Regions from separate parts of the Homo sapiens genome. Here region 1 is linked to region 2. Evidence: promoter capture Hi-C in 16 types of primary human blood cells and fetal thymus (Javierre and others, 2016). All regions are on one chromosome and are shown on one strand. The core of a region is centred on a gene start or on the middle of the fragment in contact, and the rest is flanking DNA. Distances in the headings are between cores, read along the strand shown. Region 1 holds the start of RNASE3 (ribonuclease A family member 3). Region 2 holds the start of EDDM3A (epididymal protein 3A).

Region 1 (7,366 bases), core at 2,851-5,350, 150 kb before region 2:
GAGACTTTAGCATGATAATGAGGAATGTTCATGCCAGTTTGTCTGTAAGTTGCTGGGTTATGCCAGGAGCTGGTTCCCACCAGCAAGCTTGTAAAACAGGCTGATTGCTCAAGTTGATTAAATTCTTACAATTCCTGGAGACCCTCCCTGCCGGCTTACAGAACAATTAACGGCATTTACTCCTGCAAGACTTCCTGAAGATTTGATATTAAGAGAATTTTATAAAATCAGACATGGGAGGTTCAAGGAAAAGAAGTGGACTCCAAGGATCACGTCTTTGGAACATGCGGATGTGACCACTTAACTTCTCTAATGGTAGTCTCTGTGGTGCTGGCCTTGGGTCCAGGGCAATCAGAAAATCTTGGATGTCTACTGCAGAAGGGGCAGTGAGTCCAGCCAGGGTTTCCTGATGGTCAAGCACAGAATCCTCCTTGGTCTTGTTTGAATCGTCTCACGTCCTGGGAGAGGGGAGCTGCCTCTGACCTCAGCCCAGTCATCAGCATGGGGATGGCAGGAAGATGATGTGGAAGGCATGGAGGGGCTGGAGAGAGGCCATGGCAACAGGGAGGGGAATAGCATGGGGCTGCACCATGAGAGGATGATGGTGAGATTCACTGAGATTGGAAGACTCTTGTTTCCCTCTCCCTCAACTTGTGGTCCTTCATTGGGGCCTTGCTTCCACTCTTGTCTCCCAAATAGTTGTGTTTTGCACAGCAGCTGGACAGATCTTTAGGCAATGTTATTCTTGCATGTAACATGCTCGATTTGTGCCCCATGAGGAACTTACTTTATTCTTCCATCTTCACAGGCATGAAGGGTCTGAACCTCATTAACTCCTATCATTAACACTCATGGCTATGATGATCTTGTCCTGACCAAACAACTTTTGTGCTTCTAACACGCCAAACCTCTATCCATTCAGGACCATTTTTTAAAACTGAAAATGTTTTATTACATTAAGGAATAAATACATACAAAGATGCGAATAATGGTAGTCATTCTCCTTCAGATGTTTTAATCAACTTATCGTAAACACAGAACGAAAAGTCTTCTTACAGCCTTGGTATTTGTCAGGACTTTTGAACTCTCTTTCTCTTTGCTGGGATGATTCTCCATCTGGTGTCTGCATGACTGGCTGCTTTTCCTCCTGTTCAGATTTCATTCTCTGAGATAAGTCTTTCCTGGTGACACTCTGCCCTGTCACTTTTGTGGCACATACAGAACCTCTATATTGTGCTGCTCTGTGTAATTTTCTGTGTACTATGCTGTGTATTTTTCCTCCTGACACTTAGCAAAATTTTGTATGCTTAGAACAATTTTGTATGTTTATTTTTATCCTTGTATAATGTGGCCTCAAAAGAGCAGGGACCTGTCTTGGTTTGTGTTGCATCATCACTCCCTCAAACTGTGCCTGGAGCAAGGTATCTGCTCAGTAGATGACTGCTGGATGAATGAATGAACGAAGGAATGAATGACGAGAGAGGATGAAGTCACAAGGTGGAGAGGGTGTGGGGGCAGGTGGGGACTGATCCCTCTATCCTGTGGTTTTAGAGATGAGGCATCCCCGACTGAGAAGAGACCTGTGATCTGGTACCTGAAGCAAGGAAGGTCCACTCCATCTTTCTTCACAGGAAACGTGGCTCCAGCTTTCAGAGTCCCACCTTCTCCTTCTGCTACTCTGAGGTTATGGGAAGACTGCACTCACTTCCTGACATGCCCTGTTTTACCTAGAGTCAGTGGATTCTGTTGAGCACTGAGATTTCCCAAACTCAGTGTCTCTGTGCAAACTTTTAAGTTCACAGCCCGACCTTGGAGAAGCAAGATCTCAATAGCTTCTCCAGAGGAGAGACTTCAATACAGCTGCTGTCTGATGCCAATTAAAGCACCATTACTGACATGGAGTCATCTGAGGAATGGAAATTGCTGTTTCTCAGGGTCTGGAAGAGGAGGAGAAATATAGAAGTCAGAAATCTCAGACTGAAGGACCAAGGTGCAGATCTGATGGCATCGTACCTCTCTTGCATTCTGAGTCGGGCCATTCAAAAAGACCCACTCTGTTCCTGGAACAATCACTTGAATGCTGCACCTGTCCACAACTTGCAGGAAGGGGCTTCCCCTTTTTCTCCCCTGTTTCTCATGGATTCCTGAGTGAAGCCCTGTGTTGGAGTCCAGGGCAGCGGCTCTCATCATCCATTTCTTCTCTCTCTGGGTCTACAAATCCTGAATTCTCGAGGCTGTGCCCTTCCTGACAGGTGTTGAATGAACCTTTGACTCGCCATTGGGAACATCTATGGAGGGCAGAATGGGCAGGAGCCAACTCACCTTCATGAGTGCTCCCACTTCCTCCTCCTCCTCCTCCCCCTTCTCCTTCCCACGTGACCAGCGGCTCCCCATCTCCAGGACATGGAACTTTTGGGAAAGATGTCCACCTCTCCTCCAGTCAGCATTACAATCTGTCCTTACTGCTGTCGGAACAATTTATCTTATTGCACATTTGACTCAAACCCTGGTTCCACCTCTATTACGATTGCTAATAGCTGGAGACTTGATGTGCCCATTTAAAAGAAATATCCCTGAGGCTAAACTTTTCTTTATCTTGGTTTCACCTTATTTATAGCATTCTTGACTTTTTCTACTTTCTTCTTTTCTATTTTCTATCATAACGTTCAATTCTATCAAAATTTATCATTCATAAATCATAATGAAGCACGTGCATTTTCAGCTGATTCACTGCAGCTCTTTTTTTCTTGGGATAGAAATCATGTCAATAAAAACCATAGTCGGACCATAAAGCATCAAATGGGACCTCAATATCAAATTGGGCTCAATTCTGGAATACAACTAAAACAAGTGGAGATCTATACACAAGTTATAGGTTGGTGTTGGGGGAGGAGTCAGTGGATGGAAAATTGCTTAGAGGAGATATTAAGGCTAGGGAGACCAATGCTAAGTTGACTCAATTGGATTTTTTTTTAAGGCAGGCCTGGAATCAGGTATCACATGAAGGATGATGGGGGAATTAAGGAATTTGGTCAGATATTGAGGGGGAGAGATTCATGATAAACCCAAATCTCTAGAGCAGATTGTCACTAAATGACAGCAGAGCGGCCGAGGAAGACACACAGACACTTCCAGATGAATTTGCAAAGCAGTTTATTGCAGGGTTCACAAGGGACTTCAGCTCAGGAAAGCTGAAGGGGTATGGAGACTGATGAGGACAGTTGCTGATACCCAGAGTACATGGAGGGATGGGATCTTGGCTATGATTGAGGAGCTTGGCAGATGAGTGATGATGAGGACTGCTGATACAGGAGCTTAGATGGTGGTATCCAGGTGAACTGGAACCACAGGATACCGTGGAGAATCCCGTGGATCTCTGTTGTCACATGCAACTACATAGAACCTCCTTCCTGGTCTGTCTGCATACGTGCAGTTTGAAATATTCTGTGCACCTGGATTTATGAGGTCACAGTGGAGTAAAGGCACCCGGAATCTACTCCGATGACAATTGTTGAGAGTTCTGTTATGAGGGCAGCGTATACTTTGGTTACCACAAACATTAACTACATTAGCAAAAGTTGTACGAAGAAAAGTATTTTGGTTTTTGCAACGCCATCGATAATTGTTAATTGCCCGCATTGCAATGGTGCATCGAGGGGGGTTCAGACTGATGTGCTGGATGGCAAACCACTGAGCCCTCGTAAACTGTGGGGGTCTGGCATGGAGTGAGCCCTCCACACCCATAAGCCCCAACAGAAGAAGCAGACAAATTTGGGAAGTGAACAGTTTTGGAACCATGTTTCCTGTAAGAAAAGAAGAGAAGTAACTACTCCCCGATCCGGTCTCGGTTATGACACACTCTATAGTGTCTCAACCCACAGGCCCCTCTGCTGCCACTCTGGGGTCGCATTTCCTTTTCTTCCTGTCCCCAAAGTGTGCCACATCTCCTAAGCACTAACTTCAGCTCACCTCTCCCTCAGGTGCTGCCCTGTCGCTGCCCCTCCTGTCCCAGCTCTGGGGATTGTTGACTTACCCAGTCTCTGAGCTGTGGCTCCTGTGAGAACTGATCCAGCTGGTTGTTCTGGGGTTCAGGGGCAGCTGGTCTCCCCTACTTGGAACTGTTTAAATAAAGCTTCCCTTGGTGGGTCTGGCCATGCAGAAACCCACAGATTGACACATGGTCCACTTGTGCAATCATCCTTTTTATTTGATGACTTGGCTGAGCAACGGATACCCAAGGACAGCCCTGCTGCTCTTTCTGCTATACGGACTCTAATTCCAAGTCATCCTGTGTTAGACAGAGTTTTGCCGGTGGGATCTGGACTCTGGGTGAAAACTATACGCTGCCGGCAGAATGACCACAGATTTTATAACTGTCCTCTGGCAGGCCCCTAAATGACTAAATGACACGAAGGCAGGCATAGTAGTTAGGAGAAATAGAGCCACAGAGGGCTGTTTGCCCAGGAGAAACCCAGCTTCCCTTCCATTTTTAGTAATATCCTTGGTTCTCTCTCACATAAATGCTCTCCATCTCATCCACCACTCTTGCTGGAAACTTGAGCTATTAATTTCTTGGGGCACAAGATTCTGTAGATAATTAAAACAATCTGCTCCATACAATTGAGGAATTTTTTTCTTTACTCCTCTTGCATTGGATCCACTTTCTCTTAAGTCTTGCCCTGATTATTGATTCCACTTTGTGTAAAGTTACATAACCTAAAAACACACCGAGGACAGTTGTAAAATCTGGCAGAGGATGAATGAACATTTGGTGTCATGAAAGATTCCAACCTAGCACTCGGTATTCCTGTGATCTTTTCAGCCTATGGTATTTTCTACAAAACAGTGTGTTCTGGGGTTGTCATTCATCTTCCTGGTAAGTTTCATTTTGTGATATTAACAAGAATATGGTTCTGTATTTACAAATGAACATTTAAGGACAGAGCACTGTATTCCTGAAAGTATAGAGGTCAAGTGTACAGTTTGATACACAAAGCATACATTTATTCTTGGCCCTCAGAGAAACACAGGAAAGTACTTGTAGACATATAATTGTATTACAGTGTGATAGAGGTAATAGCATTTGTGTGAACATGGTGTCATAGGGACACTGCTGGTGAAGGAAATCACTTGGCTTGAGAAATAAGGAAAACTTCAAAAAAAAGTTTATTTCAGCAGGTCCTAAAGGATAAGCAGGGGATTTTCAGGGGATTTAGAGAAGAGATGAGCATTCTGGGCACAGGGGATGATGTGGGGAAATTGTACAGAGGTGAGAAGTGAATTGCAAAGGTAAGGCCTGGGTACTAACAGATGTTAAATCTGGTCTAGCTTTGAGATTAGAAAATGGAAAGTAGACCCTTAAATGATATAATATACCTTCCAACAGTTAATCTGCCTAATTTTTACTACCGTCCAATTTTCCTGTCATTTAGAAATGCAATAATTTTATCACTGGGGTCCTTAGGTAAATGTGGACACAATGGTGACCTGGTGAGGACTCAATGCGCAGCTAATATTGCTCTGCCTTGAAGTCCTGTTCTGGCCGACATTCATTAGCAGCTTTATCATGAGGCAAGTTTATTTTTTCATGTATATTGTGTGGAGATCATTTTTGTAGGTGATGAGAATGTAAAGGTGAATGATACGTAGAGTATCCCCTCTGTGATGCTGACAGCCACACTGGCTAGAAACATTTGCACTTAAGTGTCTATAGTATGAGGCAAAAGACATAGACTGCAGCCCCAGGGCAGGTACTTGGCTAAACAGTGCTTCTTTTCAGCATACACAGTGCTATTTATGATGTTTGGTTTGGAAGATAAAGTTTGACATTGGAATAGTTCACTAAAAGTTTTCATTACTGTCTTATCTTTAAAAATCACATGATGGTGGTTGGTGCACCATTGGTGTTGTATCAATTAGAGCTGAGTAACAGCTGCGTCTGTGGAAGGGGCTCTAGCTCAGGGCTGTTCTCTGACTCCACTCTCCCTCCTGACTTTTATCCTATCTGTTCAGTGATGACACCTGCCTGGCTCCTGAAGACATCTGTGCTTATGACATATCAGACTTATTGAAGTGTCTTAAGCAGACCATAACCTGCCCAATTTGCAACCATATTCATCCTTTAAAATTGTGGAGTTTTTTGTTTTTTGTTTTTTTTTGAGACGGAGTCTTGCTCTTGTCACCCAGGCTGGACTGCAGTGGCGTGATCTCACTGCAACCTCCACCTCCGCCTCCCAAGTTCAAGTGATTCTCCTGCCTCAGCCTCCTGAGTAGCTGGGATTACAGGCGCTCGACACAATGCCCGCCTAATTTTTGTATTTTTAGTAGAGACGGGGTTTCACCATGTTGGCCAGGCTGGTCTCAAACTCCTGACCTCAGGTAATGCGCCCACCTCGGCCTTCCAAAGTGATGGGATTACAAGTATGAGCCACTGCTCCCAGCCATAAAAATTGCATTCAGAACATGCTCATAAGGTTTTTCTGATTGTCCCTTGTGTAGATTTCCTGCGTACATTTCCAACTACCTTCATTTGCCAGCAGAAGTAGTACAAATGATCTACTTTGATATTTATGACCTTTGAGAGAAGATGTTTTATATGAAGCAGGAATAAAGTATAAGTCAACATTAAAGAAAATTATCTGTTATGATCTCTGTAATCGAAACAAAATTCTCTGTAACTTCAGCATGATTTTGTCTTGAACAGACACAAGGCACTTCACCCGGGCTCTTTATTTTATTAGCATAACTTGTCTTGCAGCCTAATTTAACGACACATTTTCAGACCTGATCCACACTTCCAATGAGAGGAATAGTCAGAATTACGCCCTAGTGTTAAGTCATTTTTTGGAAACCGATGAACATTGTAAAATATTATCCCAGACAAAGACTTCTGCATTTGTGGTAAAAACCACTGTTGAGTACACTGCATTGATCAATGTCTTTTTTGCATAGCATTTATGTGCAAAAATATAATGTTCAATGCTTGCAATTTCTTCAGCCCCAGGGTACCCTTGCAATATTTGCTCTTAACCTGCTGACAGGGAGGTACCAAACCATCGATACCTTCCTGCACACAGATTTCCCTAATGCAGCAGTGGCTATCTATGGGAAAGACAATGCACACTATTTACTAGGTTGGTGCAAAAGTAATTGCGATTTTTGCCATTAAAAGTAATACAAGATTGTCATAATAATATGGTGCAGGTTAATTAAATTGCAGCAAATGGAGTAATATTTTACTTACCTAAGTTCTAAAGATAGTTGGTGTACTGAGCTCTTCCTGGTCTCTTGAACCTCAGAAAGGTGGCCCTAGGCCTTCCTTCTTGTGTGGGTCCTCCTGCATGTCTCCTCTGAAAACCATTGAATA
Region 2 (7,006 bases), core at 2,091-4,590:
TAAGATGGAAAGTTAAACACACTTTTTAGAGTTGGAGAGAATTGAAAAACAACTATAAATAGAACAAGTCATGTGGTGGGGGGACAAAAGTGTAACCAATTAATTTGTTGTAACTCTTGAACCAGTCTGGTATAGAAAATGTAATCCTTTCTCACTTCTTTCTCTTTTTCCTACATAAAAAAGAACTTAACTTTTAACTTTGGAGTACTGACCCCATTTCTCTGGAATCTGTGTGCCACAGAATGTCCATTCCCAGCCTTTCACTTTAGTAAACTCTTTTTTTTTTTTTTTTTTTGAGATGGAGACGGAGTCTTGCTCTGTCATCCAGGCTGGAGTGCAGTGGCGTGATCTCGGCTCACTGCAACTTCTGCCTCCCAGGTTCAGGAGATTCTCCTGCCTCAGCCTCCCATAGCTAGAACTACAGGTATGTGCCACCAAGCCTGGCAAATTTTTGTACTTTTAGTAGAGACAGGGCCTTACCATGTTGGCCAGGCTGGTCTCAAACTCCTGACCTCAGGTGACCCACCTGTTTCAGCCTCCCAAAGTGCTGAAATTATGGGCATGAGTCACAGTGCCCAGCCCACTCCTTAAAACTGGATTTTGACCCTTTTGATTATTTCAAATTGCTACCACGATGAGTGCTTACATCACTACTTGTCTCCAGTTTAGCACACAATCATTTATATCCACATGATATACATAAACATATCACATACATTAGACACAGACACATAAAGTGCACATTAAACCCCTTGCACAGCCATAGGCAAAAATAGCCTAGATCACCGATACCCATACCAATCACACGATACATACTCTGCACACATAACATATATAAGCGTCACATACGTTAGAATAATATATTTTATTTAAGAAAAGGAGGGTCGTTCAGCTTGGGTAGGTATAAAGAGAGTCAATATCAGGAAAGTCTTAGGTTAGTCGAGGACAGATGCCATATGAGCTGAATCTTGGAAAAAATGTGGGTGTAAATTAGGCAAATTAGGACAAAATTGTATTACAGATACAGAAACCACACAAAGATTTGGTATCAAGAAATCACGAGGTACATAAACTCTAAGTAGTTGGAAAACACTGACACATAAATGTAAGCGGGGAGTGGCAGGGGCTATTGATGGAGGCAGGGCCCACCACTTTGGAAGCACTGAATACTCTACCAATATCTGAGGATGTGCATAGACTTTCTAGTTGCTGATAGGTTCTATAATCCTCAGGTCTTCTATGTTATCAACATATCCATCTACGCCACAATGGAATTCAATGTAGCTGAAGCTTCTGCTCTCTGTGTACCTATTGTTGTACTTCTCCCAGTGACACTCGAGTACTTTGAGGGCACCTGGGGCCCATACATATGCATTTCTATATCGGTCGCTCCCCTTCTCATTGATGCATGCACGCTGAATTTTGAACCATAAGCTATAGATGAACATATGAAAGCTCTTGCCTTTCAGAGCCTCTTTTTCTCTCATGAGGACATCACATTTGTACTCTTTGAATTCTCGACTTGGACTTAAGTAATGAAGTTTTATGAATTCTCTCCAGTAAATGTTGTTACTGTATACACACAGCCTGCAAAGGATGCAAAGCAGGGCCAAGAGTATGCCCCAAATCTTTAGAGAGGATGTCATCTCAGTCACCACGTCCACCTGCGTGTCTACAGGGAAGAGAAAGAAAAGCATTAACCAGACTATACTCAGAGAGCTGAGCTCCACCTTAAAATTCCTTTCCCTGCCAAGCAGGTACTTGGGCACTATATTGCTATTTGGTTCCATATTAGAAGATGATGATTCTCATTAAAGAATACAGTTTCTGGGCTGGGCACAGTGGCTTATACCCGTAATCCCAGCAGTTTGGGAGGCCAAGGTGGGTGTATCACCTGAGGTCAGGAGTTCGAGAAACACCGTGGCCAACATGGTGAAACCCCATCTCTACTAAAATACAAAAAGTAGCTGGACATGGTGGCTGTAGACCCAGCTACTCGAGAGGCTGAGGCAGGAGAATCGCTTGAACCTGGGAGGCGGAGGTTGCGGTGAGCCGACATCACACCTCTGCACTCCGGCCTGGGTGACAAAAGCAAAACTCCGTCTCAAAAAAAAAAAAAAAAAAGAATACAGTTTCTAAGAACTAAAAATATGCTTTAGCCTGTGAGAGCTAACACAAATTTGGAAAATATAGATAAAGTACCTTTTGAGAATTTCAAATATCTCCTGTCTACCCTGTCTTCTACCCAATTTGAGGAGCCAATCACTATCGAGCTCTCTTTTACCAAATAAGCTCTCAGGAGATCATGTGTCCAATAGAAAAATGACATTTTAAGCGTATTGTCTGCAAAGTGGAAAAGATTGTTGCATTTTAAGGGAATGTAGAAGATGAGTAACTACTTGGGAGGTGGTTCCTAGGCAGAAGGCATTGATTCTGGAAACCACAGCCCAGGCTGCAATTGCACTTCTCTGAAAAATGATGTTTTTCCAACCTTGACTTCCTTATAACACTTTCCCCAAAGTCTGGGTGAAACATGTGATCATTATTAACTATCGGCATCCCTTCTCAGAGGCCATTTCCCTAATTACTGCTATTACAAATGATCTTCATTTGTTAGAGCTTATTGACAATGCCATCATAAAAGGACATCAGTTTAGAACTGTTGCTGTAATCAATCAGGCACCAAAACTAAAACAGTCCCCCGCAGAGCTACTGTGGTCACAGCATAGGATGTATGGTCGTTTGAAAAAGTTATCTCTTTACCAGCTATCTGTCCTCATTTGCCATGAGGAGTATTCCTGGCCCTACTGAACCTCTAGCCTGATTCATAGCTCTGAGTATCGGTGTCCTCAGATAGGCCTAATCACAGCTCCCTACAGACCTGCAAGAGTCTAATGAGATGCAAGCATGTGAGAGCACTTCTAAAGATGTCAAATGCCCACATCAGGCACAGGGTTCCTCATCTGTGGAACCCTGTCCTGGTGATAAAGGCCTACACAAGATAGAAGAGTAGGATGCAAGCAGCTTTAATGCACTGTGCTTAGGAGGACTGGCGGTGAAGGAAGGGAGGGGCAGGGAAAAGCCTGTATCAGTGGGACTGAGGCTAACCAGAATTCAGACCTTTGTTTTCCATGATTTGGATCCTTCTCCATTGTTTGCTATCTAAAAGTTCAATCAGCCTCCTTCCAGTGTTCCTGGCTGTCCCCCGAGCAACCTCAGCAGAGCCCTTCTTACCCTACTTGGACTCTGAGTTCAGGTCACTGATTGTAGTGGGGATCAGCATGTGGATCTGAAGAGCAGAGTCTGCGTCCTCCTCCTTTTCTCAGAGCCCTGGAAATCTACAGCAGTGGAGAAAGGAATAGTAGGGGGAGCTGCAGGGCTCCAGCTGATTGGTAGCCGAGGTGGTGATGGGGAACAGCCTTATTATGTGAACTTGTCCCTGTATCGTTTCATCTGGAACACTTGGGCTCACTCAAACAGTAGCCTCGAGCAAAGGCTACAAACATCAAAGGCTGAGCCCTGGGTACAAAATGATTGCAAGACCCTAGGTGACCCCAGAAAAGGGTTATCTGGTGCTATCAGGAGACAACCAGAGACTTAGCTCTGCTCTCAATTCTAACAAACTTCTGGGGAAGTCCCTGGAGGGTTATGCTATGTTACATGGGAACTTCACTGAGGAAAGCCACCTTTTTTTTTTTTTTGAGATGGAGTCTCGCTCTGTTGCCCAGGCTGGAGTGCAGTGGCGAGATCTCGGCTCACTGCAAGCTCCGCCTCCCGGGTTCACCCCATTCTCTTGCCTCAACCTCCTGAGTAGCTGGGACTATAGGCGCCTGTCACCACGCCCAGCTAATTTTTTGTATTTTTAGTAGAGACGGGGTTTCACCGTGTTAGCCAGGATGGTCTCGATCTCCTGACCTCATGATCTGCCTGCCTCAGCCTCCCAAAGTGCTGGGATTACAGGTGTGACTCGCTGTGCCTGGTCTTTTGCCTTTTTTTTTTTTTTGACAGGGTCTTGCTCTGTCGCCCAGGCTGGAGTGCAGTCGCACAAACACTGCTCCCTGCAGTCTCAACCTGCCAGGCTCAAGCAATCCTCCCACCTCAGCCTCTTGAGTAGCTGGGACTATAGGCATGCAACACCATGCCTGGCTAGTTTTTTGTATTAATTTTTGTAGAGACAGGGTTTCACCATGTTGGCCAGGTTGGTCTTGAACTCCTGAGCCTAGCTAAGCCTCAACACATCAGCCTCTAAAAGTGCTGGGATTACAGGCATGAGCCACTTGGTCAGGCCAGAAAATCACTTTTAATGTTGTGAATTGTGAGACCTTCATTGAGAGGTGAAAGAATATCTAGTGAACACAGTGGCCAAATAGCTATGAATGATTAGGTAGCCAGTATCTGAAATTTCTCTACTCAGTTTTTTAATTATAACCTTTAGCTGTTTGGTGACACTGTACTGCTTACTATTAAAATGTCACATAGCCTGGCCATAGTTTCTACAATGCTACTATACGTAACATCTGACTGTGAAGTATAGGTCACAAGGTGCTGGCTAAGTTGTTTTTCAGGACCTCAAGATTCAGTCCTGAACTCAGCTCAAACTGACAAGACCACAACTTCTTCAACTGAGTTTGTGCAAGTGTTCAATGGTTACCTTTAACATCACAGCCGGAATTTTCCACCATATTTTCCATGCCAACTCCCCACAAATTGGCAAATGTGACCAATACTGGTTCATCAACACTAGTCAAAGTTACGATTTATGAATAAAGTAAGACTCTTGCAAATCTTTTCTAACAACACTTCCAAAGGCTGCTCCTAGCCAAACCACCTTAGTTGATTTTCTCACTGGGCCACCTTATTGTTGGAATGACAGAAGGTTCAGTTTATATCCAGAACTTATCTTCAAACCCCCACTCCTGTGAAGCAGTCCTTGAGTAATAGAAAATCATGTGCTGATAGACTGGATGGACGGGAGATAGTCTTAGAGCAGGTTCTGTGCATCCTTCTACTCTCTAGGTCTTTGGGGGACAGGGGAGAGCAAAACAGGAACAATTCTGGGCCTCTGAATTTGGATGATTTGAGAGGCGATTCTGAGGGAAAATCAGTTTTTTGTCATGTGCCCACACATCCAGAGCTCTTTCCAACAAATGTGCATTGTCTATTGAAGACAAATTCAAGTAGTGACTCAATGAATGTAGAGAGGTGGGAGAGAGAAGCCACCTGAGCCAATGTATGAGCCAGTGTTTCTCAAATACTTGATATTCCACTTTTAATATGGAAAAAAAATCATGGACTCCAAGCATACATCCATGAACTCTCCTATGAGCTAAGCCCAAAGTCCTAAAGCTTTTTGGATATAAACCCAATTAGGAGGCCATCTAAACTAAACTGGGGAAAAGCATATTGTTATATTTACAGAAATTAGCCACTATGAATGCAGCCCAGGAAGGTAACCCAACCAGTATTTCTGGAAACTACGTAATGGGTCTACTTCCTAGGGTTGTCTACCAGCTTGTGTAACAGAAGCTCCTTGGGCAGTGACTTTTGATTTCGGTTTTTAAGGAGGTATTCCCCTTTAAATATAAATTTTAAATCACTTGAAAATTATGTTCATCCTTTATTGTCTTTGATTTTAATTATTTTCTGTTAATTCCTTGATATGTCCTTTTATTATTATTATTATTATTTTTGGAATGGAGTTTCACTCTTGTCGTCCAGGCATGATCTCAGCTCACTGGAACCTCTGCCTCCTGGGTTCAAGTGATTCTCTTGCCTCAGCCTTCTGCGTAGCTGGGAGTACAGGTGCGCACCAACACATCCGGGTAATTTTTGTATTTTTAGTAGAAACAGGGTTTTGCCATGTTGGCCAGACTGATCTCAAACTCCTGACCTCAGGTGATCCACCCGCCTTGGCCTCTCAAAGTGCTGGGATTAAAAGCGTGAGCCACCGCACCAAGCCAATATTTCTTTTGTTAGCCACTATTCAATTCTTAAATGTTTGTGAACTACTGTTTCACAAAACCATAAAAGTGACTTAGGTTCCTCATTCAGGGGATGACAACGTCTATAGGTGTCTTAATCTGTGATCCACGGACTTCCAAGGGCTCCATGGATGGAATTCATAGGATCAATGCAGTAGTGCAGTGCAGAAAATTACATCTCTATTTTCACTCACCCATATTGAAATGTAGGGGCTGGGCATAGTGGCTCACACCTGTAATCCCAACACTTGAGAAGGTCAAAGTGGGAGGATCACTTGAGCTCACGAGTTTGAGACCAGCCTGGGCAACACAGGGAGAAACCCTATCTCTACAGAAAATTAAAACAATTAGTTGGGTGTGGTGGCACATGCCTGTAGTCCCAGCTACTTAGGAGGCTGAGGTGGGAGGATCACTTGAGGCCAGGAGTTGAAAACCAGCCTGGTCAACATAATGATAACCTGACTCTACCAAAAAAAAAAAAGAAAAATTTTTAAGGCCAGTAGTGGTAGCACGTGCCTGTAACCTCAGCTACTTGGGAAACGGAGGCAGGAAGATTGCTTGAGCTTAGAAGTTTAAGGCTGGACTGAGCTATGATAGCACCAGCCTGGGTGACTGAGTGAGACCCTGTCTCTCAAAAACAAAACAAAACAAACATAACAAAAACTAAAAAAAAACCCAAAACCCTAACCCCATACTCCTTGAGACACAGATGAGAAGATGAATGTAGGCATCAGGCCACACACCTATCGTGGTTACACGAGGATTCCCTTGGAGAGAGATAATGGTGGCTGTATTTTCACAATGCTCTGCTTTAGTCAGTTAAGAGAAGTCCAGATAAGATTTCTTACGCGAGGACCAGCAAGGTCTGTTGAGTACAAAGACTGGAGGAAATCAGACAACAAAAACTGAATACTTCCTCATACCTCTTCTCTCAGGTGGTATTGTTTAAGACTCAGCAGTGTGGTTCCCTCATATACTTTGACTGGTCCTGGGACTGCAGACTTAGCACTATCTGGTTTCCCATC

What was found. Contacts are between HindIII fragments. The CHiCAGO score rates a contact against its expected background, and 5 or more counts as called.
Region 1: the fragment with the promoter of RNASE3 here is called in contact with the fragment with the promoter of EDDM3A in region 2 in 9 of 17 cell types (fetal thymus, total B cells, endothelial precursors and 6 more); the score reaches 10.2 in fetal thymus.

What each region holds. Positions count from the first base shown.
Region 1 is chr14:20,888,119-20,895,484 of GRCh38, reverse strand. It overlaps RNASE3 (ribonuclease A family member 3), which reads right to left and starts at 4,100. Exons shown (of 2, transcript NM_002935.3): 1 at 4,034-4,100; 2 at 3,137-3,803. The coding sequence starts at 3,798. The coding sequence ends at 3,316. The region is part of intron 1 of LOC100507513 (a long non-coding RNA gene); the gene reads left to right. The HindIII fragment of the contact is 4,045 bases long and covers 90-4,134 here.
Region 2 is chr14:20,742,221-20,749,226 of GRCh38, reverse strand. It overlaps EDDM3A (epididymal protein 3A), which reads right to left and starts at 3,340. Exons shown (of 2, transcript NM_006683.5): 1 at 3,235-3,340; 2 at 847-1,672. The coding sequence starts at 1,646. The coding sequence ends at 1,203. All of the region lies in intron 2 of LOC107984671 (a long non-coding RNA gene), which reads left to right. The HindIII fragment of the contact is 4,056 bases long and covers 1,293-5,348 here.